Regions from separate parts of the Homo sapiens genome. Here all the other regions are linked to region 1. Evidence: promoter capture Hi-C in 16 types of primary human blood cells and fetal thymus (Javierre and others, 2016). All regions are on one chromosome and are shown on one strand. Each heading gives the region's core, a stretch centred on a gene start or on the middle of the fragment in contact. The rest is flanking DNA. Distances are from core to core; before and after follow the strand shown. Region 1 holds the start of VAMP1 (vesicle associated membrane protein 1). Region 2 holds the start of LOC105369625 (a long non-coding RNA gene). Region 3 overlaps ZNF384 (zinc finger protein 384). Region 4 overlaps TNFRSF1A (TNF receptor superfamily member 1A).

Region 1 (5,325 bases), core at 1,022-3,521:
GTTCAAGTGATCCTCCTGCCTCAGTCTCCCGAGTAGCTGGGACTACAGGCGTCCATGCCCAGCTAATTTTTGTATTTTTAGTAGAGACGGGATTTTGCTGCGTTAGCCAGGTTGGTCTTGAACTCCTGGCTTCAAGTGATCCGCCCTCCTTGGCCTCCCACATTGCTGGGATTACAGGTGTGAGTTACTGCGCCTGGCCCTTTTTCTTTTCTTTTGGAGATAGGGTCTCATTTTGTCACCCAGGTGGGAGTGCAGTGGCGTGATCTCGGCTCACTGCAACCGGAACATCTGGGCTCAAGCTGTCCTTCCGCCTCAGCCCCCCAAATAGCTGGGACTACGGGAGTGAGCCACCACGCCCGGCCCCATTCTTTTTGTCTTTGGGGGCTTATAATTTTTTGCAAATTTTCCCAAATTGTCATTTTTCCCCCTAACTTGCCATTTTGATGTGGTTTCAGGAGGAGAATGGGATAAACACATATGATGAATGCATTATGTTTCCAAGTGCAATTGTTTCCTTAAGAAGACTTGTGACATTTGGATAGATAACTTTGGTGGACTTTTTAGAGAATAGATGTAAAGGATGGCAAGACTGGAAGCAGAATGATGTATCATTGATCTTAGGAGGCACTTGGGTTTTTTGTGTGTGCTTGTTTGTTTGTTTTTTTGCATTTCAATATCTTCTAATTGGGATGTTTCACTTTAGCTATTAGTCAGACAGCAGTCAAACTATATTTGTCATACCTGCTCATGAGCATCAAAGCTTGCCAAATGGGTGTCTGAGGCTTGGAAGAAAACTCTAGAGCCTGGAGAGGAACACTCTTAGGAAATGCTGCATCACCAAAGCCCTTATGAAATGCACAGAGGACTACATTGCGTGGAAATTAGTGGACATCCAAGACTGAGTCAAAAAAGTGAATCATTAACAATCAGTCTCTGTGAAGTTTTAGGGATAGTTACCATGTTATTGTTTTCTATTTCCCTTTTTATGCATGCACAAGAGTGAAATATAGAAATCGGTATGTATATAAACCCATATTTTCAATACATGTAAAACAAAAATGCTAAGTGGTAAGGAAAGCATTTGTCACAGATAATTTGCAACCTTTTTTCTTTTTTTTTTTGAAACAGGGTCTTGCTCTGTTGCCCAGGCTGGAGTGCAGTGGCGTGATCTCGGCTCACTGCAACCGTCGGCTCCCGGCTTCAAGCGATTCTCTTATCTCAGCCTCACGAGTAGCTGGGATTACAGGCGCCCGCCACCATGCCTGGCTGTTTTGTATTTTTAGTAGAGACAGAGGTTTCGCCATGTTGGCCAGGCTGGTCTCGAACTCCTGATCTCAGGTAATCTGCCTGACTCGGCCTCCCAAAGTGCTGGGATTACAGGTGTGAGCCACTGCGCCCGGCCTTGTAACCTTTTTTCTTAGCGGGACATAAAATAATGGTGAATTTTCCAACTGATGGAGTCCAGGAAAGGGATAATAGTGAGCAGAGGGGAGATAATCACTGGAATGCCAAGAAGGAAAAATCAACTCGATTTGGCAGATTACTGGGGGAGAGGTAAAGGTGAAGGGGAGGAAATCTAGGATGGTTTCCACGTTTCTGGTCTGGGCAACTGAGTCGATGTGGTAACCTCGACTGGAGCAGGTTTGGGAGGGAGTTCAATTTAGGAAGGCTATGTTGAAAGAAACGAATGAACGAAAGCTTCGTGCTTGCTTTGGTGGGACGGAACCCCGCATCCGGTATCTGGCACCAGGAGCTTGTGGCTGTGTCTCGAGGCTCCTGCACCCTCTCAGAGCGTTAGTTAGAGGCGGGGCGGTGGTGCGGAGCGAGGGCCAGAGCAGGGCACCAGGGCTGGGCGCGCACCAGGAAGCCGCCGCCTCCAGCTGAATGCGCGAGTCCCGGCGCGGGGTGGGGCAGGGGCGGGCACGGTCTTCAGTAACTGCCTAGCGATTGGTTGGGAGGCACCACAAATGCCTAACAAACTGCTGAAGCGCCCTCCGAAGGGACAGACCTCATCTCCACCCCGCCCCGTCCCTCCGCCAGACTGGAGCGCAAACTATGGTCGCATTGATCACTGAAGGATCCTCACAGCAACCGCTCCTTTCCGGAGTCGGATGAGAGGAGAGTTGTGACTGGCAATTGGCAGGGGCGGGGCGGGCTAGGCCTGTAGCGCTGGGCGACCGTCCTGGGCATGGATTGGGCCGCGGGGTTGTCACCGTTATCCGGGAGGCGTGGTCAGCACTAATAAAGGCGGAGGCCGGCGCGGCAGCTGCAGTAAGTTCCAGCGCAGCTAGACCGCGGGGTAGTCGGCGCGAGGCGGAGCTTGGCAGTTCCGTCCACTTCAGCCGCAGCGTCCCTCACCGGGTGTCTCGCCGCAGCCTCCGGAGAGGAACAGACCCTCACTCTCTCTGTCAGAAAAATGTGAGTTGACTCTGGTGTGGGGGCTCGGCACCTCCTTGACAACTCTCGCCCCAAGCTCCCGATTCTGCGGGACGGAAAATGGCGCAATGCAGCAGCTGCAGCAACGCGGGGAACTACCACCGCGCGCCGCTTCCGGACCGGGCCACCCCCAGGGAGGGGGGCCAGCACCCCATTCTCGCACCAGCCACAGCTAGCACCCCACGGGCGGGGCAGGGGCGCAGGGGTCCCACAATCATTGCACCCTCTCCTCTCGTCTGAGTGGCGCCTCATTCTGGTTTTGGTATAGTGGAGACTCGGAGAGGGCGGGGGCTGGGGGTGGTGGATGGAGACAACTGGGCAGGGGACTCGAAAGGTATTTCTGTCATCTGGCTAAATCACTACTCAGCGCCTCAGGAAAGACAGTCATGGGTGCAACTGCCAGTTGGTAACTTATGTTGCCCTACAATCTCTGGATTTGTTTACCCCTCACCCAAAGTGTGATGTCTAGCCCCCCTCATGGCAGTGAGCAAAGCTGCAGAAACTTATCTGCCAGTTCTCTGGCACCAGGTGAGCAGCTCAGAAAGACTCAAGGGGTAGTGGGATAGTGGCCTGTCATCCCAAGCGGCTGTTCATACCAAGGCCATTCGTATAGGAGATGTTTTTCTATCACCGAGTCTTACCAAATAGTTGGAGGAGAAATAGGGAGAGCTGAGCTTTCCCCCTTTCCTCCAACACACACAGTTTAGTCTCCAGCAGTCTTCAACATCACCCCCTTCGCATGATCTTGAGGGAAAACTACGGCTAAACAAACGAAGTACTTCTCTGTCAAGACCTCAATATGTCTAATACAGATTTTTCTTTCTGATTACTACCCTGGCCTGGTCCTAGATGTATTTATGTTGCTTCTCTAAGTGACAAAAAAGGGAAAGATTTACTTGTGTTACATAAGGGTTGTAATTATCCCTAGATATTTTACTGTTGAGTGTTTCCAACTCCCAACAAGTAGTAAGTGAAATTGGCCTTGCAAATACTTCATAGCCATTTCACTTTTTCTTTTTGATTTCTATGGTTTTAACCAGATATGAGTGTTCTATGCATTTTGGGCAAGCCGTAGAATTCCAGTTGTTTTCATTTTGGGGAGGGGGCTTCCAGATAGTATCTACGTGGGATGAACAGAAGGCAACAGAAAAATCGTGGTGGCTAGCGGGGCATCACGAGGTCTCTGACCTTAATCTTGTCATTGGTGCTACCATCCTGGACTGCTTCCAACACTGGCTGCTACCTACTCATTGAATTTTCTGCCTTAAGTCGAGAGCTAGATTGCTTAGCTAGCTCAGTGGCAGGACAAGAGTCTTGTGGCTCCCATGACTTTGTGTCTATCTTTGCTTTACCTCCTTTGCACCTTAGAGGGAAATGGAAAAGTGATTCTTCAAATGGGGAATGAGTCAGGTGTAATCTGCTACCATAGCCTCTCTGAGGAGTTATTCTCTATCTTTTTAGACTAAAAGAAATTCACTTAATCAAGGAGAATGAGCTTCTGGGTATTAGTTCTATTGTAATTAGTCAAATAATTTCCTTTTAGGTGACTTTGTGGTTTCATTTTTGTTGCATTTACTCTTGGACTGCTCCTGTGAAGTATGTTTGGTGAGATTCTGCTTCTGTTTGAGGAGTTCTTACTGTAATTTCTATTCTCCATCAAATTTGAGAGATCTCCCCCCTGCCTGTGGGTGCTTCCTTGGCCGAGAACATCTCATGACTTAGGTTATACTTCTGGGAATTCTTTAGGAGGTGAGTTTAGCCTCCATGTTTTGGGACATGGAGAGGAGTTTGTCTTGAAGACCACACACTAACTTTGAGTGGTACAGAATGAGAGAACATTCTCTGTGTGTATAGTACAGTAAACCAAGATCTCTCTTTGGGATGTAAGTAACCAAGGGAGTCATCTGAGACTGTCAAATCCAGAAAAGGAAGGGACAGAATGTCTATAATGCATGCACATTGAGGACAATTTCTAGCATTTTTGCTTCCTGTCTATGCTCTTGGAACAGTTTCCATAACTAATGTAATTGCTTTGGGCCCCAGATTCTATCTAAGTGAAACCCCCATTTTCTCTGCCAAAAACAAAGCAAACAAACAGTCCTGACTCACTCCACCTACATAGACTTTGCCTTTGGTGATTTTCCAAGCTGCCCTTATGGCAGCCCTGATTTCCTCATCTTGTGTGAAGCATAACCAATAACTGGGCATATAAACCAATAACCATAACCAATAACTTGAATATAAAAAGGGGTGAGCTGACAGACATTACAGTGTACAGCCTCCCTCCTGGCTCCCTTCACGGACTGGCATTGAGTGTCTGTGGCTTTTCCAGGCGCACGGTGCAAGCTACCAGTGGATCTACCATTCTGGGGTCTGGAGAATGGTGACCTTTTTCTCATAGCTCCACTAGGCAGTGTTCCAGTGGGGACTCTGTGTGGGGGCTCCAACCCCACATGTCCCTTCTGTACTACACTAGCAGAGGTTCTCCATGAGGGCCCTGCCCTTGCAGCAAACTTTTGCCTGGACATCCAGGCGTTTCCATACATCTTCTGAAGTCTAGACGGAGGTTCCCGAACCTCAGTTCTTGCCTTCTGTGCATCTGCAGGCTCAACACCATGTGGAAGCTGCCAAGGCTTGGGGCTTCCACCCTCTGAAGCCACGGCCCGAGCCCTGCATTGGCCCCTCTCAGCCACAGTGGGAGCGGCTGGGACACAGGGCACTAAGTCCCTAGGCTGCACACAGCATGGGGACCCTGGGCCTGGCCCACAAAATAACTTTTTCCTCCTGGGCCTCCAGGCCTGTGATGGGAGGGGCTGCTATGAAGGCTTCTGACATGGCCTGGAGACATTTTCCCCATGGTCTTAGGGGCTAACACTAGGTTCCTTGCTA
Region 2 (5,779 bases), core at 2,447-4,946, 180 kb after region 1:
GGGAGTTCTGGGGTGCTAGGAGGTTCTCAGAGGCCAGACCAGGAAATCCAGGGCCTCACCTTCCCAGGGTTGCCCCAGGCAACCTCTGTTTGTAAAGAATCCTGTTTATTATCTACTGACTCATGGTCATCTGTGGTTGCTATGGTTCCCACCAACAATGAAGCATAAATCCATTCCTAGAGGGTGGGGTCTGCAAGGTGGGGCTGTCCTCTTCCTTTTCTGGCTCCCAGCTCCTCGCAGCTTCCCAGCCTACAGCAGCAGGGTTGGGGGGTGGGGGGGTTGGGGGAGTGTCTTTGTCTATGGAATCTCAGATGTGGGGCTCCTTGGAAGGGTGGGACAAGGAGCTCAGTGGAGTGAAGGGACAGATCTCTGCAGTCAGGGCTGGGACCACGTCCACTGAGTGAGAGAGAACCGGGCAGCTCTAAGCTGATCAGAAGCCCTGTTCCCTCTGCATAACTAGAGGAGGAGCCCAGGAGATGGAGAGAGAGAGACTCCAGGAAGAGTTAGAGCAGGATTAGGAGACCTGGCCCCTTTCTCCACCAGGGACAAGCAGAGTTTGTTCCCCAAAGTGGTGGCAGATACATAAATGTGAAGCTGGGAGAGGCAGTTGTTTGGCAACAGGCAGAGATGTATATATGTTGTATAAAGGAACCAAGAGAAAGGGAAGCTAGAGGGACAGGTGGACTTTGGAAAGATTATTTCATTTCACACATTTGCACAAAGTCTTATAGGTTACAAAGCATTTGTGCATCTATTTTCTCATTTGCTTGTCACAGAAGCCCTGTGAGGAAGCCAGGGCAAGAAATATCAATCCATTTGAAAATGAGTAAACACTGGCTTATAAAGGTTGCTTAACACAGCCAAGGTCAAAAACAGGACTAGAATTTAGAGCTCCTGGCTCATAGTTCAGTGCTTTCTTTAAACTTTTTTTTTTTTTTTTTTTTTTTTAACAGAGATGGGTCTCTCTGTGTTGCCCAGGCTTGTCTTTAACTCTTAGACTCAAGCAATTCTCCTGCCTTGGCTTTCCAAAGTGTTGGGATTACAGGCTTGAGCCACCACACCTGGCCCAGTGCTCACTCTTTCTTTTCTCTCTTTCTCTCTCTCTCTCTTTCTTTTTTGACAGAGTCTTGAGTCACCACACGTGGCCCAGTGCTCGGTCGCTCCTTCCTTCCTTCCTTCCCTCCCTCCTTCCCTCCCTCCTTCCCTCCTTCCTTCCCTCCTTCTTTCCTTTCTTCCTTCCTTCCCTCCTTCTTTCCTTCCTTTCTCTCTCTCTCTCTCTCTCTCTCTTTCTTTCTTTCTTTTTTTCAGAGTCTTGCTCTGTCACCCAGACTGGAGTGCAATGGCAGGATCTCGGCTCACTGCAACCTCCACCTTCTGGGTTCAAGCAATTCTCCTGCCTCAGCCTCCCAAGTGGCTGGGATTACAGGCACCTGCCACCACGCCCAGCTAATTTTTTTGTATTTTTAGTAGAGATAGGGTTTCACCATGTTGGCCAGACTGGTCTCGAACTCCTAACCTCAGGTGATCCACCCGTCTCGGCCTCCCAAAGTGCTGGGATTACAGGTGTGAGCCACCACGCCTGGCCACCCAGTGCTCTTTCTATCAAATAAATGTCTCAAACTTGGGCTTTCGTGGGTCATTTTAATGGGTGTTTAATACACACAAAGTGCCAAAATTTTGGGTCAACTTAAAAAATTGTCAGCTAGGCGCCACCAGTGGGTCATGCCTGTAATCTGTGTGCTTTGGGAGGCCAAGGTAGGCAGACCACTTGAGGTCAGGAGTTCGTGACCAGCCTGGCCAATATGGCAAAACCCCATCTCTACTAAAAATACAAAAATTAGCCGGGCATTGTGGTGGGCGCCTGTAATCCCAGCCACTTGAGAGGCTGAGGTGGGAGAACCACTTGAACCCGGGAGGCGAAGGTTGCAGTGAGCCAAGATCATGCCACTGCACTCCAGCTTGGGTGATAGAGTGAGATCCTGTCTTGGAAAAAAAAAAAAAATTGTCACTGCTGGTGTGGTGGTGCACCACCTGTGGTCCCAGTTGCCTGCAGAGGCTGAGGTGGTCGGATTGCTTGAGCCTGGGAGGTCAAGGCTGCAGTAAGCTATGATGACACCACTGCACTCCAGCCTGGGCATCAGAACAAGACCCTGTCTCAGAAGAAATTTTGTCTCAAATTTTAAAATAATGTATTAAAACACGAAAAAAGTAACAACAGTGTCTCTGTTTTAAATCAAGGAGAAGGACATTGTCATCTTCATTAGATTGTTTATATTCAGCTTGGTGTCAGACTACTGTGGTGGACATTCTTGGGGAAGGTGATTTGCCACACCACCAGGAACTACATCTGTAAGTACACTACATTCAAAATTTGGAAGATTGTTTTAACCCTGGGTGATGGTGGAAAATAGATTTCTTATCCAACCTTTGGCTTCGTTGGAAAGTACTTCATGTTCTGATGTTGAATTTCAACTGTTTTTTTATTGTGGTAAAATATACATAACATGAAGTTTACCTTTTAATCTCAGTGGTTTTAAAATATACTCAATAATATGTTTTTGATTTCTTTCTAAAAAAAAATCCAATGTTGGGAAATAGTAAAGCGTTGATGTTGCAACTGTGCCAGAGTTCTAAGTTCAAGAAATCCTGGTATTTTATTTCTAACATTAAGGTTGTAAAATGCTGGTCCTGAGTCATAGGTTCTGGTGTGTCACTAAGATACACTACTTGAACAAACCCTTTGCAATTAGATGAATGCTCTTCGTTAGCATATCAATGTCACAAAGTGTCATCCTGCATTTAGAAAAACTTGTGTGATGGAAAGGAAAAAGTAAAACTATCTCTGTTTGCAAATGACGTGATATTATATATAGAAAACCCTAAGGAATCTACAAAAATAATTAGAATCTACAAAAAATAATTAGAGCTATAAAACAGTTCAGCAGAGTTGCAGGATACAAGATCACTTACATTACTAGTTCCGGGCTCTTCTATGTACAAAAATCAGTTGCATTTCTATGCACTAGCAATGAATAACCTGAAAATGAAATTAAGAAGACCGTCTGCTTAGAATAGTATCAAAATGAATAGAATACTTAGGAATAAGCGTTTTTTTTTTTTTTTTTTTTTTTTTTTCTGGAGACGGAGTCTCACTCTTTCGCCCAGGCTGGAGTGCAGTGGAACCATCTCGGCTCACTGCAAACTCTGCCTCCCGGGTTCACGCCATTCTCCTGCTTCAGCCTCCCAAGTAGCTGGGACTGCAGGTGCCCGCCACCACGCCTGGCTAATTTTTTGTATTTTTAGTAGAGATAGGGTTTCACTGTGTTACCCACAATGGTCTCAATCTCCTGACCTCGTGATCCACCCGCCTCAGCCTCCCAAAGTGCTGGGATTACAGGCGTGAGCCACTGCGCCCTGCCAGGAATAAATTTAACCAAAGAAATGCAATAATTGTACACTGAAAAATATTGTTGAAAGAAATTAAACAAGGTCTAAATAAAATCAAAGGACAGCCTATGTTTATTGTCTAAAAACTTAATATTGTTAAGATGTTGATACCAAATTTATCTACAGATTCAATGCAATCTCTATAGAAACTGTCCCCCCAAACCCCAGAAATGGACACGCTGATCCTAAAATTCATACAGAATTGCATGGGACCTAAAATAAACAAAACAAACTTGAAAAAGAACACAGTTAAAGGATTCATACTTCCTAATTTTCAAAACTTACTACAAAGCTACTGTAATCAAGACGATGTGATATTGGCATAAGGATAGATAAACAGACGGATGGAACAGAATCCAGTCCACACACCGACAGAACAGAATCCAGTCCACACACGGACGGGAATAGAATCCAGTCCACACACGGACGGGAATAGAATCCAGTCCACACACCGACGGAACAGGATCCAGTCCACGCGCCGACGGAAGAGGATCTAGTCCACACGCCAACGGGAATAGAATCCCGTCCACACACCGACGGAACAGAATCCAGTCCATGCACCGACGGAACAGGATTCAGTCCACGCACCGACGGGAATAGAATCCAGTCCACACACCGACAGAACAGAATCCAGTCCACACACGGACGGGAATAGAATCCAGTCCACACACCGACGGAACAGGATCCAGTCCACACACCGACGGAACAGGATCCAGTCCACGCGCCGACGGAAGAGGATCTAGTCCACACGCCAACGGGAATAGAATCCCGTCCACACACCGACGGAACAGAATCCAGTCCATGCACCGACGGAACAGGATCCAGTCCACGCACCGACGGGAATAGAATCCAGTCCACACACCGACAGAACAGAATCCAGTCCACACACGGACGGGAATAGAATCCAGTCCACACACCGACGGAACAGGATCCAGTCCACACACCGACGGAACAGGATCCAGTCCACACGCCGACGGAAGAGGATCCAGTCCACACACCGACGGAACAGGATCCAGTCCACGCGCCGACGGAAGAGGATCCAGTCCACACGCCGACAGAACAGAATCCAGTCCACACACGGACGGGAATAGAATCCAGTCCACACACGGACGGGAATAGAATCCAGTCCACACACCGACGGAACAGGATCCAGTCCACGCGCCGACGGAAGAGGATCTAGTCCACACACCAACGGGAATAGAATCCCGTCCACACACCGACGGAACAGAATCCAGTCCATGCACCGACGGAACAGGATCCAGCCCACGCACCGACGGAAGAGGATCCAGTCCACACACCGACGGGAATAGAATCCAGTCCACACACCGACGGGACAGGATCCAGTCCACACACCGACGGGAATAGAATCCAGTCCACACACCGACGGAACAGGATCCAGTCCACACACCGACGGAACAGGATCCAGTCCACACGCCGACGGAAGAGGATCCAGTCCACACACCGACGGAACAGGATCCAGTCCACGCGCCGACGGAAGAGGATCCAGTCCACACGCCGACAGAACAGAATCCAGTCCACACACGGACGGGAATAGAATCCAGTCCACACACGGACGGGAATAGAATCCAGTCCACACACCGACGGAACAGGATCCAGTCCACGCGCCGACGGAAGAGGATCTAGTCCACACACCAACGGGAATAGAATCCCGTCCACACACCGACGGAACAGAATCCAGTCCATGCACCGACGGAACAGGATCCAGCCCACGCACCGACGGAAGAGGATCCAGTCCACACACCGACGGGAATAGAATCCAGTCCACACACCGACGGGACAGGATCCAGTCCACACACCGACGGGAATAGAATCCAGTCCACACACCGACGGAACAGGATCCAGTCCACGCGCCGACGGAAGAGGATCCAGTCCACGCGCCGACGGAACAGGATCCAGTCCACACACGGATGGAATAGAATCCAGTCCATGCACCAACGGAACAGAATCCAGTCCACTCATCTATGGTCGATTGACTTCTACCAACATTACCAAAACCATTCAGTGGGGGAAAGAATAGCCTTTTCAACAAATGATGCTGAAACAAATCGATGTCCACATGCAAAAGAATGAATTTGAACTCATATCATACCATACGTAAAACTTAACTCAAAATATATCAAAGATCTAAATGTGAGAGCTAAAACTATAAAAATCTGAGAAGGAAATATAGGTGGAGACTGGGCAACATAGTGAGACCCTGTCTCTACAAAATATAAAACAAAATTTGCCAGGCATGATGGTGTGCTTCTTGGGAGGCTGAGGTGGGAGGAGCACTTGAGCCTGGGAGGTTGAGGCTGCAGTGAGCCGACGT
Region 3 (5,741 bases), core at 2,534-5,033, 200 kb before region 1:
TGATCAGACATCTTGCTTTGAGAAGAGGAGGAGTCAGGCTTTCCTCACAAATAAGAGACACGTCCTGTGATGTTTTTGAGATTTTATACCAGAGGTCCCGAAAAGCACCTGGTCATAGAGATGGTTCTGAAGTCGCTGATGAGGAGCAGGTGTCACTGCACCCTCAAGTCCTTGGCTCATCTTAGCAGAGGGCCCTGTGGTGTTGGGGAGAGAGGTCACATTGGTACTAAACTAGGCATTTCCTGTCATTAGGGGGCTGGGCTGCAAAAAGCACTTAGTTTTCATGAGTTTCCATTAATATCACTACTACTCTCCACAATCAGTGTAACTGCTTTTCTTTGTTACCATAACATTCTCTGGAAGTGATGCTCAAGGCTGAGGGGACTGTTTCTGGCCATAAGGTGGGGCCAAGGAAGACGCGTTCTGCTTTTCTTTTTCCTTGCCATTGTGTTTATCTTGTGTTCTTGAATGTTCGTTAGGACAGTTACTGTAGGAGCTGACTTGAATGCCAAATTGTGGGCTGCCTGTTCCTTGGGTGCCAAGTCCTCAGTCTCTCCTCCCCCAGCAGAGAGGAGCCTCAGCTTGAGCTGAGTGATGCAGGCATTGACCAGAAGCAAATCATCAGTACCTGATCCACATCAGAGAGGAAGGCTGGTGCCTCTTGGAGGCCCATCTGATGTGCCTCCTTAGGAGAGCAGGATGGGCCTGGAGAAGATTTGTTGAGCCAGTTCCTAAATGGTCTTGCTGACATTCTTTCCCTTTTTTCTCTTATCCTGTGCAGAATCCACACTGGTGATAGACCATACAAATGTGCACACCCAGGCTGTGAGAAAGCCTTCACACAACTCTCCAATCTGCAGGTAAATGTTCCACCCTCCACACAAGACCTTGAGTCTGAGACATGGGGCCATTTGAATAGTATCGTGGTTCTCAAATGTTTTCAGGACTCCTTTACACTCAAACATTATTGAGGGACCCAAAGAGTTTTTGTTTATGTGGGTAATAGCTGTCTACATAGACGTTGTAAAACTGAAAAACCTGAAAAATATTTATAATAGTAATCTGTTTAGAAAGAACAAAAATAAACCCATTGTGTGTTAACATAAATAACATATTCCAAGACCCTCCAAAAACAACTGAGTGAGAAGAATGGCATTATTATACATTTTTGCAGGTGTCTATTTTTTATTTTTGGGACAGGACCTTGCTCTGTCACCCAGGCTGAGTGCAGTGGTGTTATCATGGCCCACTGCAGCCTCAGCCTCCCGGTCTCAAGTGATCCTTCCACCTCAGCCTCCCAAGTAGCTGGGATTCTAGGCATGCACCATCACACCTGGCTGTTTTTTTCATTTTCGTAGAGATGGGGTCTTGCTATCTTCCCTAGGCTGGTCTCGAACTCCTGGACACAGGCCATCCTCCCGCCTCAGCCTCCCCAAAGTGCTAGGATTGCAAGCATGAGTCACCGCACCTGGCACAGGGGTCTTTAATGTCTTAAGCTAGAAGATGAGTAGATTCTCAGATCTGCTGCATCTGGCCTATTGTGTTATCACACATCATGTAACCTCTGTAAGGGTTACATGTAAAACATAAGGCACAATGAAGCCACTTGAAATTTTGAGGGGAACAAGATTTCAGTTAGGTTTTTCATCTTTGTGTTTGTGTGTGTGTGTGTGTGTGCGCGCGCGCGTGTGCGTGTTTGAGACAGAGGCTCGCTGGGTCACCTAGGCTGGAGTGCAGTGGTGTGATTTCAGCTTACTGCAACTTCCCAGGTTCAAGAGAGACAAAGGCAAACATTGTCTTATTATTTTGAAAAGATTTGGCTGGGCGCGGTGGCTCACACCTGTAATCTCAGCACTTTGGGCGGCGGAGGCGGGCGGATCACCTGAGCTCAGGAGTTGGAAACCAGCCTGGCCAACACGGTGAAACCTTGTCTCTACTAAAAATACAAAAAAAATTAGCCAGGCCTGGTGGCATGTGCCTGTAGTCCCAGCTACTTGCAGGCTGAGGCAGGAGAATCGCTTGAACCCGGGAAGCGGAGGTTGCAATGAGCCGAGATTGTGCCGCTGCACTCCAACCTGAGCGACAGAGTGAGAGACTTCATCTGGGAAAAAAAAAAAAAAAGAGTTTTGACCCTGTGGGCCCCCTGTGAAGGTCTTAGTGTTCCCTAAAGATCCCCATGCCTCATTTTAAGAACCACTGGACTGGTGAGACGGGCATAAGCTGTCTTGGGATCCTGGTATGTGCTACATGAGGTATGCTTCCACCCTTAGCCTGTAGCTTCTCAAGTTTCATTTGAAACAATTTCTACTTTCTTCAGATAGAGGGAGAAGCTGGGAGGCCTGACACCTACCTTTTTGCTTTCCATCGAGGTCAAGGGGGCAGGAGGAAAGAGTACAATGTATTCATTCTGGTTTCTCCCAATTTTCTCAGTCCCACAGACGGCAACACAACAAAGATAAACCCTTCAAGTGCCACAACTGTCATCGGGCGTACACGGATGCAGCCTCACTAGAGGTGCACCTGTCTACGCACACAGTGAAGCATGCCAAGGTGTACACCTGCACTATCTGCAGTCGGGCATACACATCAGTGAGTGCTCCGTTTCTTCTCTCCTTCCTCATAGTCCTCTAAGAGTACAGTCCACTTCACCCCATTTTCTGGGTAGAGATCTGTTGCAGTGAATACCCTGCCTCCCTAGCTCCAACTTAGCAGAACAGGTAAATATTCAGAAATTAATTAGACCCATTCTGAGGAATTTAGGGGATGCCTGATCTCCTAATCCTATAGAGACGCATAAGCTGTAATTCTTCATTTTACTTAAACATAAGGCAAAATAAAGCCACTTGAAATTTTGAGGGGAGCTGGATTTCAGTTAGGCATTTTCTTCTTCTTTTTTTTTTTTTTTTCTTTTTGAGACACAGTCTCGCCCTGTCACCCAGGCTGGAGTGCAGTGGTGTGATCTCGGCTCGGCTCACTGTAACCTCCACCTCCTGGGTTCAAGCGATTCTCCTGCCTCAGCCTCCCAAGTAGGTGGGATTACAGGTGCATGTTGCCATGCCCAGCAACTTTTTGTATTTTTAGTAGACATGGGGTTTCACCATGTTGCCCAGGCTGGTCTCAAACTCCTGACCTCAAGTGATCCACCTACCTCAGCCTCCCAAAGTACTGGGATTACAGGTGTGAGCCACCGCACCTGGCCCAGTTAGATATTTTCCATGAGACTCCAGAAAAGGTTGTAAAGTTGTTTCATTCAGGGGTCTTTGAAAAAAATAGCAGCTCATTCCTTTGCCAGTTGAATGTTGAGTGACTTCTAAAGGTTCCTCTCTTTTTTTTCTCAGTAGTGAGCCACTGAAAGTGCTACTTGAGTTTTGCTCAGTCTTGGCTCCAGAAAACCAGTATAAAGCTTACTCTGCTTACAGCAGAATCAGAGCCTGGGGTGCTAGTTACAAGTAATCTCTTTTCCTTCCTCTTTATCCCTCAACTTCTTTTTACCATCTCCCTCAGGAAACATACCTTATGAAACATATGCGCAAACACAACCCGCCTGATCTTCAGCAACAGGTGCAGGCAGCAGCAGCAGCGGCAGCAGTGGCCCAGGCCCAGGCTCAAGCTCAAGCCCAGGCTCAGGCTCAGGCTCAAGCCCAGGCCCAGGCCCAGGCCTCCCAGGCATCACAGCAGCAGCAGCAGCAGCAGCAGCAGCAGCAGCAGCAGCAGCAACAGCCACCACCACACTTCCAGTCTCCTGGGGCAGCCCCCCAGGGTGGGGGTGGTGGGGACAGCAATCCCAACCCTCCACCCCAGTGTTCCTTTGACCTGACCCCGTATAAGACGGCGGAGCATCATAAGGACATCTGCCTCACTGTCACCACCAGCACCATCCAGGTGGAGCACCTGGCCAGCTCTTAGAGATCCGTGCTGCCACCCACTGGGAAGAGGAAGAAGTAGTCCTGGTGTCTTCTTTCTCCAACTCTTGGTGGGAAAAGTCCTTTTCTTCCTTGACAGGCCTTGGCTCCATCTCCTTGGGCCTCTGTCACGGCTTTCCTTCACAGGATACCATCCTTTTTCTGAACTCTTCTTCAAAAGGAACATCAGCCCTCCTGATTGCAAAGGAATACTGAGCTGATGGTGTCATCCAGCAGCCTCCCCTCCCAAGCAAAGCTTCTAAAACTGGGGGTCGGTGCTCAAGGGAAGGATTTGCTATGACCTCATAGAACCTTGTCCAGTGTGGCCACTTACCCTATCCTTACCCTCCTTATCCTCAAAGTTTGGGCTGATGTAAGACTAGAGGCTGGCCCTCCCAGATAACAGAGAAAAGGGAGCCCCAAATGCAACCAGCCTCTTGTTCTATTCTTGCCTGCAAAAGAACAGAGGTTTCTCAAATGCCTCAGTCCCTGAGAGCCATTTCTTCCCCTACATCGTCTCACTTTGCTTCCTATTGACTGCTGGTAGAAGGAGATTTGGGGTAGGGGCTAGACCTCCTTTTATTTGAAGGGGGCAAGGGCTGAGATGTGGTCCCCAAGGGGCCAGAAATTCCCAAGTTGGTCACAGGTGGCTTAGAAGTGTGTGTTATGGTTTTACGGATTTCCTTGAAGCCTCTCTCCTTCTCTGCCTACAAAGACCCTATACTCTCAGTCTCCCCAACCCACCCCCAAGGAGCTGTGGGAGGCTTTGTGTTATCTGTGAAACTCCAAAACAGGGGTGTTGCGGAGAAGGGAGAGTTCAAGGCAAACGCAAGGACTGGACTTAGCTCCCTAGGTGCCACAGTCAGATGCCGGACACGGATTTATATATAAATATATATATATAAATATATTATACTCACTCATCACGGCCATCTTTGTTGTAACCATTTCTGTGTTTATAAATGCATTATCTCTGAGAATTTTCATATTTGATGTTTTGTTTATTTTTGTCCTTTTTTTCCCTCTCTCCACCCCTGTCCTCTAGCCACAGCATTTTTCTTTTTGTCTTTTTTTTTTTTTTTTAAATCATGGCAGATTTCAGAGGAAAGGAAATTAAAAAAAAAATCAGGAAACCAGTTGTTATAAAGTAATTTAAAAATGAAGAAAAAAAGAAAAAAACTTATGTACAAACCAAGGGGTGTTTTTAGAACATTGTATAGAAATAAATTCATGTAAAAGGATCAGAGGCAGTGGAGCTACTGATGTGAGCGAGCATGCGGAAAAGGTATTTGGGGAGATGTCCAAGAACAGTACTGAGGATTTATACCAGAGTGTGTGTGTGATGAACAAGTGCTTGTGTGATGATGCCCCATTTGTGCAATTCTCCAGTCATGGAAGGGTACAGTTTCATGATGTCTCCAGTGAAATCCTGGTTTATGAGGACTTCTACATACACATTCTGTCATGGGGATTGCATTGCCTAAATATGTGAGAGCAAGGCTTTGGTTATGTGTTAACAAAACAGCTAAGCTCCCTATGGAAGAAAAATGGAAGCCTCTTGAAAGGACCTACACTCCTGCCTGAGTCTGTGGAAGAGGGGCTTGCAGTTGGCAATGTGTATACATATGTGTATTTGTTACCTTGTGGAAATCATAACCGGTTAAGGGGTGCAAGATTGATTTATGCAGGAGAGCTGTAGTACTATGGAGTAGAATGTGGTCATGAAACCTGGACTTCAGCCCTTTGCCTACCATCAACCAGTGTTGGCCAGGGTGCTTCTTCAACTGTTAGTGAAGGGATTGGACTAGATAACTCTGAAGATACCTTTTTTGAGAATTA
Region 4 (5,277 bases), core at 1,874-4,373, 140 kb after region 1:
ACTTTCTGACCAAGACATTTTTTGATCTCTCATCTTATAAGGTTCGTGGTCACTTTGGGGAGATCATATCTGTCACCCAACATAACCATATTATGATAAGAGCCAAAAGTAGATAGGGTCAGTTCACGTGCTTCGAGTTCACAGGGACTATGGGTCTAAGGAGCCGGGGTGGAGGAAACAGACATCGTCAATGGTGGCTTCACGGGAGGGAGATGGGATCTCAACTGGGCCCTTGGAGGAGAAGCTGCCACGACCTCCCCCAACACCTTGACATTAAATGAACAGACACATGAATGAGGGGGAAAGGAAGACTAATTGGGTCCCTGCAAGGTGGCTGGATCGGGGTCAGACCACAAGGCCGATCTCAGCGTCGCCTCCCCACTCTGCAGCCCCAGCACAGGAAGTCACACTTTAAAGCCTCCTCTGGCGGAAATTGTGGGGGAGTTGGAGGGGTGTTGGGCCACCCCCTCAACTGTCTCTCCACAGGCACCCCAGCTTCCTGCCCTTCTGCTCCAGGCTGGAGTCTGGGCCTAAAGAGCTCACCTCCTGTTTCTCCTGTTTTGCTTCATTTACGCAACTGCTGAGGACTGGGCTTACTGGGGCCAGCTGGTGCCAGCAGTGGTGCCCAGTGGTGGGGAGTCTGAGGGCCCTGGCTCCTAGGGATCAGAGAGGGCTGACCTGGAGCATTCTGGGGGCCAGGGGAAGCCTAGGAAGCAGGGCTGGTTCTTCCATCCGGCATCCCTTCTTGCCTGCTCCCTCGTTCCTGGAAGTGGGTGTTCAGGGCTCTGGAGGCTTTCCTGTATTGCCAGTGGGCTTGGGGAGGGTCTGTGGAGACTCAGAACTGGCCTTGTTTCCTAAGGATTGTCTGGGGACCCCAGGGAGGCCCCCAAACCCAGCACAACTGGTCAGAACCAGCCAGGCTGTGGGAATGCGGTGAACCCAGGGTGGGAGGGCAGCCTTGGCTTGCTTCCTGCTGGGACTGGGGAGTGTTGGGGGATGGAGTGAGAGCTCACGGAATGGGTTTAGCTGTTGGAGACTTGTTGAACTGGGAGGAGGAGCTGGGGCGGGGCCTCAGCTAAAGGCCGCTGAGGGGCTAGGAGGAGCCAAGTGGCCCTCAGGGAAGGGAGGGCACAGACCTGATGGGCGGAAGCCAGGGTCGAGGGAGACTTCCCTTCGGGATGGAATGGGGAGAGGGAGGCATTTCCCGGAACATGTGGGCCAAGTGGGACAAGGGTCTGTGGCCTGGCTCTTTGCATGGGGAGGGGATGGATGGGGGTTGAGTGGGGATGGGAAGGAGGGACTTGGCCATAGGAAGAAGGGATTAGATGGAGTCCCACTTGCATGCAGGCTGGTGCCTTCTGCCTTTCTGCTGACTCATGACCCTTGAGGAGCTGGGGAAGCTGCTAGTTCCCTCTCCCCTCCCTAGGTCTCCCTCCCTCTGGCCTGAGTCACTGGGGCGGAGTTGCTGGGAAAAGATTTCCCTTTCCCGGATCTGACTTAACCCCCAGAGTGCTGGAAAGAGAAGGGAACACGTGGCCTGAGAAAGCCTCTCTCCCTCCCTCCCTCCAGGGAGGCTCATCCCCCACTGGCCAGAGGTCCCTGAAAAGCTCCCTTTAAGGCTGTCTGGGGCTGGCGTCCCCCAGTTCTTCATCATGACTCTGCCTCAAGCCCCCTGGATGGGATTCAAAGTACCAGTGACCTTAGGTGCTCCAGTGGCTTCTTCGGGGAAAGGAACCACACTTTCAGGACTGGGAAGTTCTTCCCATCACCACCCCAAACCCTTCCTGTTGCCCTGGAAGCCCCAGTCCTGTTCTCAGCAGAGGTGGCACGGTGTTGGCTGGTGCGGGCAGGGGAAGGTTGTTGTCCTCTGAGCAGGGGCACACGCCTCCACCTGCGGGGGCTGCTGTTGTGTTTCTGTGTGTGGCTTCCCCTGTTTGCGGCTGAGGCTTGAACTTCCGGGCCTGCACAGCTTACAGCTGCAGCGTCTCCCCGTGGCTGACTCAGGGTGACTGGCCTCCTGCTCCGAAATGTGGAGTTGGTGAGGCTGGGTGGCTGTGGGCTGCCTGACCCTCCTTCCCTGCCCTAGGGTTTCTGTGATCTGGTGAGTCAGTTGCTCCCCAGTGTTTAACAGACATTGAGGACACCCTCTTATCTTTACACAAAGTGTCTCTTATAGTAGAAAAAAAAAATGAAGCCCAGGGAAAACCAGAAATGAAGCTGGCAGAGATCAAAGTCCAAGTTAGAGCTAAATATTCACTCCTGGCTTTGCTTTCCTGGCACTGATGCCGGAACAGGACAAGCCATTTAGCTGCTGTGGGGTTGGCCTGAGACTGCAAAGCACACCTTCCAGAATGCCATGGTGTGCAGGGGGCTCCAGGACTCCCCAGCACGCCCTCAGCTCTGACCTGACAGTCATCCAAGCTGGGTCGCTAGCCTTGGCCAGCTCTATTTGCCTATGTCCTGCACACCTTTGCCCACTCCTGCCCCCGTCTCAACTTTGTCCCCCGTCTACCCATGCAGGATCCCCAACCTTTCCCTTTTACTCTCCTCCCCATTTGTCCTTGCCAACCCCGGGTGTTTGTAAATTTTGAGGTGGAGGGGATGGGCCAGGGAATGTGAGGGCGGAGGCAGATTGAGGTTTGATACAAACATGTAAATAAACTTCCTTCTTCTGTCCACTCCCCAGGAGTGGTGCTCACGGGAACATCACTCGCCCCCACCGCCAGCTGACTTTTTCAGAAAGCTTTTCATGGTGTAACATATTCCTGGGATGTGCATAGATCCTCATTGTTTACCTCTGTGAATGTTCGCAAAGCGATCACACGGTGAACCCAGCACCCAGATGGAGAAACACCGCCCCAATCTTTAGGGCTGCTTGTTGGAAGAAGGGGCCATCACTGAAGTAACCTGCCAATTCCCAATCAAAAACACATCCTTTCAACATCTGCCCTGTGTCCAGCACTGTTAGCTGCTGTGGGGGATTTCACAGTAAGGATAAAATACAGGGCTGGGCTCACGCCTGTAATCCTAGCACTTTGGGAAGCCAAGGTGGGAGGATCACTTGAGCCCAGGATTTTGAGACCAGTCTGAGCAACGTAACAAGACCCTGCCTCTACTAAAAATAAAAAAAAATTAGCTGGGCATGGTGGTTCACGGCCGTAGTCCCAGCTATTCAGGAGGCTAAGGTGGGAGGACTGCTTGAGCGTGGGTGGTGGAGGGTGCAGTGATTGCATCACTGCACTCCAGCCTGGACAACAGAGCAAGATCCTGCCTAAAAAAAAAAAAATACAGCTTAGATCTGGGGCCTACTAGCTTTGAGTTGAGGGAACAAAAATGAACACACAGGACAACTAGAGAACAATTAAGCATCAGATTGTATGGCCCCAACTGTCTAAGTTTCAAGGAAGAACTCTAAACTTAGTGAGTGGCGTGGCCTGGGCGGAATGTTTCACTGAGGAAGGACTTGAGCCAGGGAAGTTTTAGATCTGCTACCCCTAAGCTTCCCATCCCTCCCTCTCTTGATGGTGTCTCCTCTATCTGATTCTTCCCCAGGTGCTCCTGGAGCTGTTGGTGGGAATATACCCCTCAGGGGTTATTGGACTGGTCCCTCACCTAGGGGACAGGGAGAAGAGAGATAGTGTGTGTCCCCAAGGAAAATATATCCACCCTCAAAATAATTCGATTTGCTGTACCAAGTGCCACAAAGGTAGGGGCAAGTGGAAACGGTGAATGCCCTCAGGTCTGGGGTGCTGCTTCTTTCTCTGCTTCTTCCAGTTGTTCTTCCCTAACTTTGCTGTCTCTCCTGGGCTGGGATTTTCTCCCTCCCTCCTCTCCTAGAGACTTCAGGGAATCGGCCCTGGCTGTTGTCCCTAGCATGGGGCTCCTTCCTTGTGTTCTCACCCGCAGCCTAACTCTGCGGCCCCATTCACAGGAACCTACTTGTACAATGACTGTCCAGGCCCGGGGCAGGATACGGACTGCAGGGAGTGTGAGAGCGGCTCCTTCACCGCTTCAGAAAACCACCTCAGACACTGCCTCAGCTGCTCCAAATGCCGAAAGGGTGAGTGTGCACAGGCAGGAGAGTCAGGCGGGTCTTGAGTGGTGTGTGGGTGCCTGTCTATGTGCAGGCTGGTGGGTGTGGGCAGGAAGGTGTGTGTTTTGGTGGGACACTGCATGGATGTGAGTGTGTATTACAGAGACACACACTTAGGGGTATGTCAGGAAGGGGATGCAGGGACAGGAGGATGCAGGACTCATACCCCATCTTCTCCCCTCACCAGAAATGGGTCAGGTGGAGATCTCTTCTTGCACAGTGGACCGGGACACCGTGTGTGGCTGCAGGAAGAACCAGTACCGGCATTATTGGAGTGAAAACCTTTTCCAGTGCTTCAATTGCAGCCTCTGCCTCAATGGGACCGTGCACCTCTCCTGTGAGCGCAGCTCTCCTGAGGCCAAGCCCTCTCCCCACCCCAGGGGTTGGCCCCTTCCCCATGCGGTGGCACTTCCTTTCCTTCCCCCTCCTGTATTCTGTGGGTCTGACAACCAACTCCTCTCTGGCCGCCCCCACCCTGTCCCTCGTCACTTCCTCTGTCCTGTGGGGTGGGGGTGCAGGCGCTTCTCCTTTAGCTGTGCCGCACTTCTCCCTACAGGCCAGGAGAAACAGAACACCGTGTGCACCTGCCATGCAGGTTTCTTTCTAAGAGAAAACGAGTGTGTCTCCTGTAGTAAGTGAGTATCTCTGAGAGCTGCTGGGCACTGGATGGTGGCATGGGTTGGGACGGGTGACTGGTGGGAACCATTAGCTGGGCAACAGATGCCAGGATGCCCCAGAGTGCTCAGGGTCCTACTGGCTGAGTAGGAGACACTTCGTTAAGACACCAGGCAGTCCTTCCCCTTGCTCTTCAAATCTGAAGAAGTCTTTGAGGATGGAAGATCATGCCCCAAGGGCTGGCAGCCCTTCCAACTCAGATATGTAGATTCTTGGATCTACGATAGCTCATTGGTTCTAGGACATACACTCTTATAGCTCTGAAATCAAACCTCCTATAACTGGTGACTCATCATGGTTGAATTGGCAGCTCTGTTTGCGTCTGGGTAGTAATGTAAAGAAAAGTGCCTTTTATTCTTGATGGCGTCTTAGGTTTGATGCAATATGGTATTTCCTCATTAGTCACTGTCCAGGCCTCCTTACTCCTGGCTCCACAGAGGCTGTTCTTGTCACTCACTTGCAAAGAATAAACTCTGAGGGCTCTCAGAGTTTGAACCCCAGCATAGCCA

The links. The method cuts DNA at HindIII sites, captures the fragments that hold promoters and counts their contacts. A CHiCAGO score of 5 or more calls a contact.
Region 2: a fragment that was not itself captured here is called in contact with the fragment with the promoter of VAMP1 in region 1 in 2 of 17 cell types (M2 macrophages and endothelial precursors); the score reaches 5.8 in M2 macrophages.
Region 3: a fragment that was not itself captured here is called in contact with the fragment with the promoter of VAMP1 in region 1 in 3 of 17 cell types (naive B cells, monocytes and naive CD8 T cells); the score reaches 6.2 in naive B cells.
Region 4: a contact is called between a fragment that was not itself captured here and the fragment with the promoter of VAMP1 in region 1, in 17 of 17 cell types (naive CD8 T cells, total CD4 T cells, non-activated CD4 T cells and 14 more). The highest score is 61.1, in naive CD8 T cells.

The regions. Positions count from the first base shown.
Region 1 is chr12:6,467,623-6,472,947 of GRCh38, reverse strand. It overlaps VAMP1 (vesicle associated membrane protein 1), which reads left to right and starts at 2,271. Exons shown (of 5, transcript NM_014231.5): 1 at 2,271-2,418. The coding sequence starts at 2,417. It also overlaps a transcript of TAPBPL not described here. RefSeq lists silencers at 1,720-1,979, 2,190-2,239, 2,740-2,789. The HindIII fragment of the contact is 5,218 bases long and covers 1,701-5,325 here.
Region 2 is chr12:6,289,669-6,295,447 of GRCh38, reverse strand. LOC105369625 (a long non-coding RNA gene) reads left to right here and starts at 41. Exons shown (of 5, transcript XR_001748979.2): 1 at 41-197; 2 at 2,239-2,349. RefSeq lists a silencer at 1,849-2,059. The HindIII fragment of the contact is 7,609 bases long and covers 1-5,779 here.
Region 3 is chr12:6,665,879-6,671,619 of GRCh38, reverse strand. It overlaps ZNF384 (zinc finger protein 384), which reads left to right. Exons shown (of 12, transcript NM_001385745.1): 10 at 782-860; 11 at 2,431-2,589; 12 at 3,505-5,143. The coding sequence ends at 3,906. Among named protein-coding and RNA genes, the nearest start is that of ING4, 5.6 kb to the right of the region's middle. The HindIII fragment of the contact is 755 bases long and covers 3,406-4,160 here.
Region 4 is chr12:6,332,520-6,337,796 of GRCh38, reverse strand. It overlaps TNFRSF1A (TNF receptor superfamily member 1A), which reads left to right. Exons shown (of 10, transcript NM_001065.4): 2 at 3,553-3,706; 3 at 3,932-4,060; 4 at 4,281-4,430; 5 at 4,650-4,728. Among named protein-coding and RNA genes, the nearest start is that of TNFRSF1A, 6.9 kb to the left of the region's middle. RefSeq lists enhancers at 477-526, 300-594, 587-676, 1-862, 2,605-3,475. The HindIII fragment of the contact is 756 bases long and covers 2,746-3,501 here.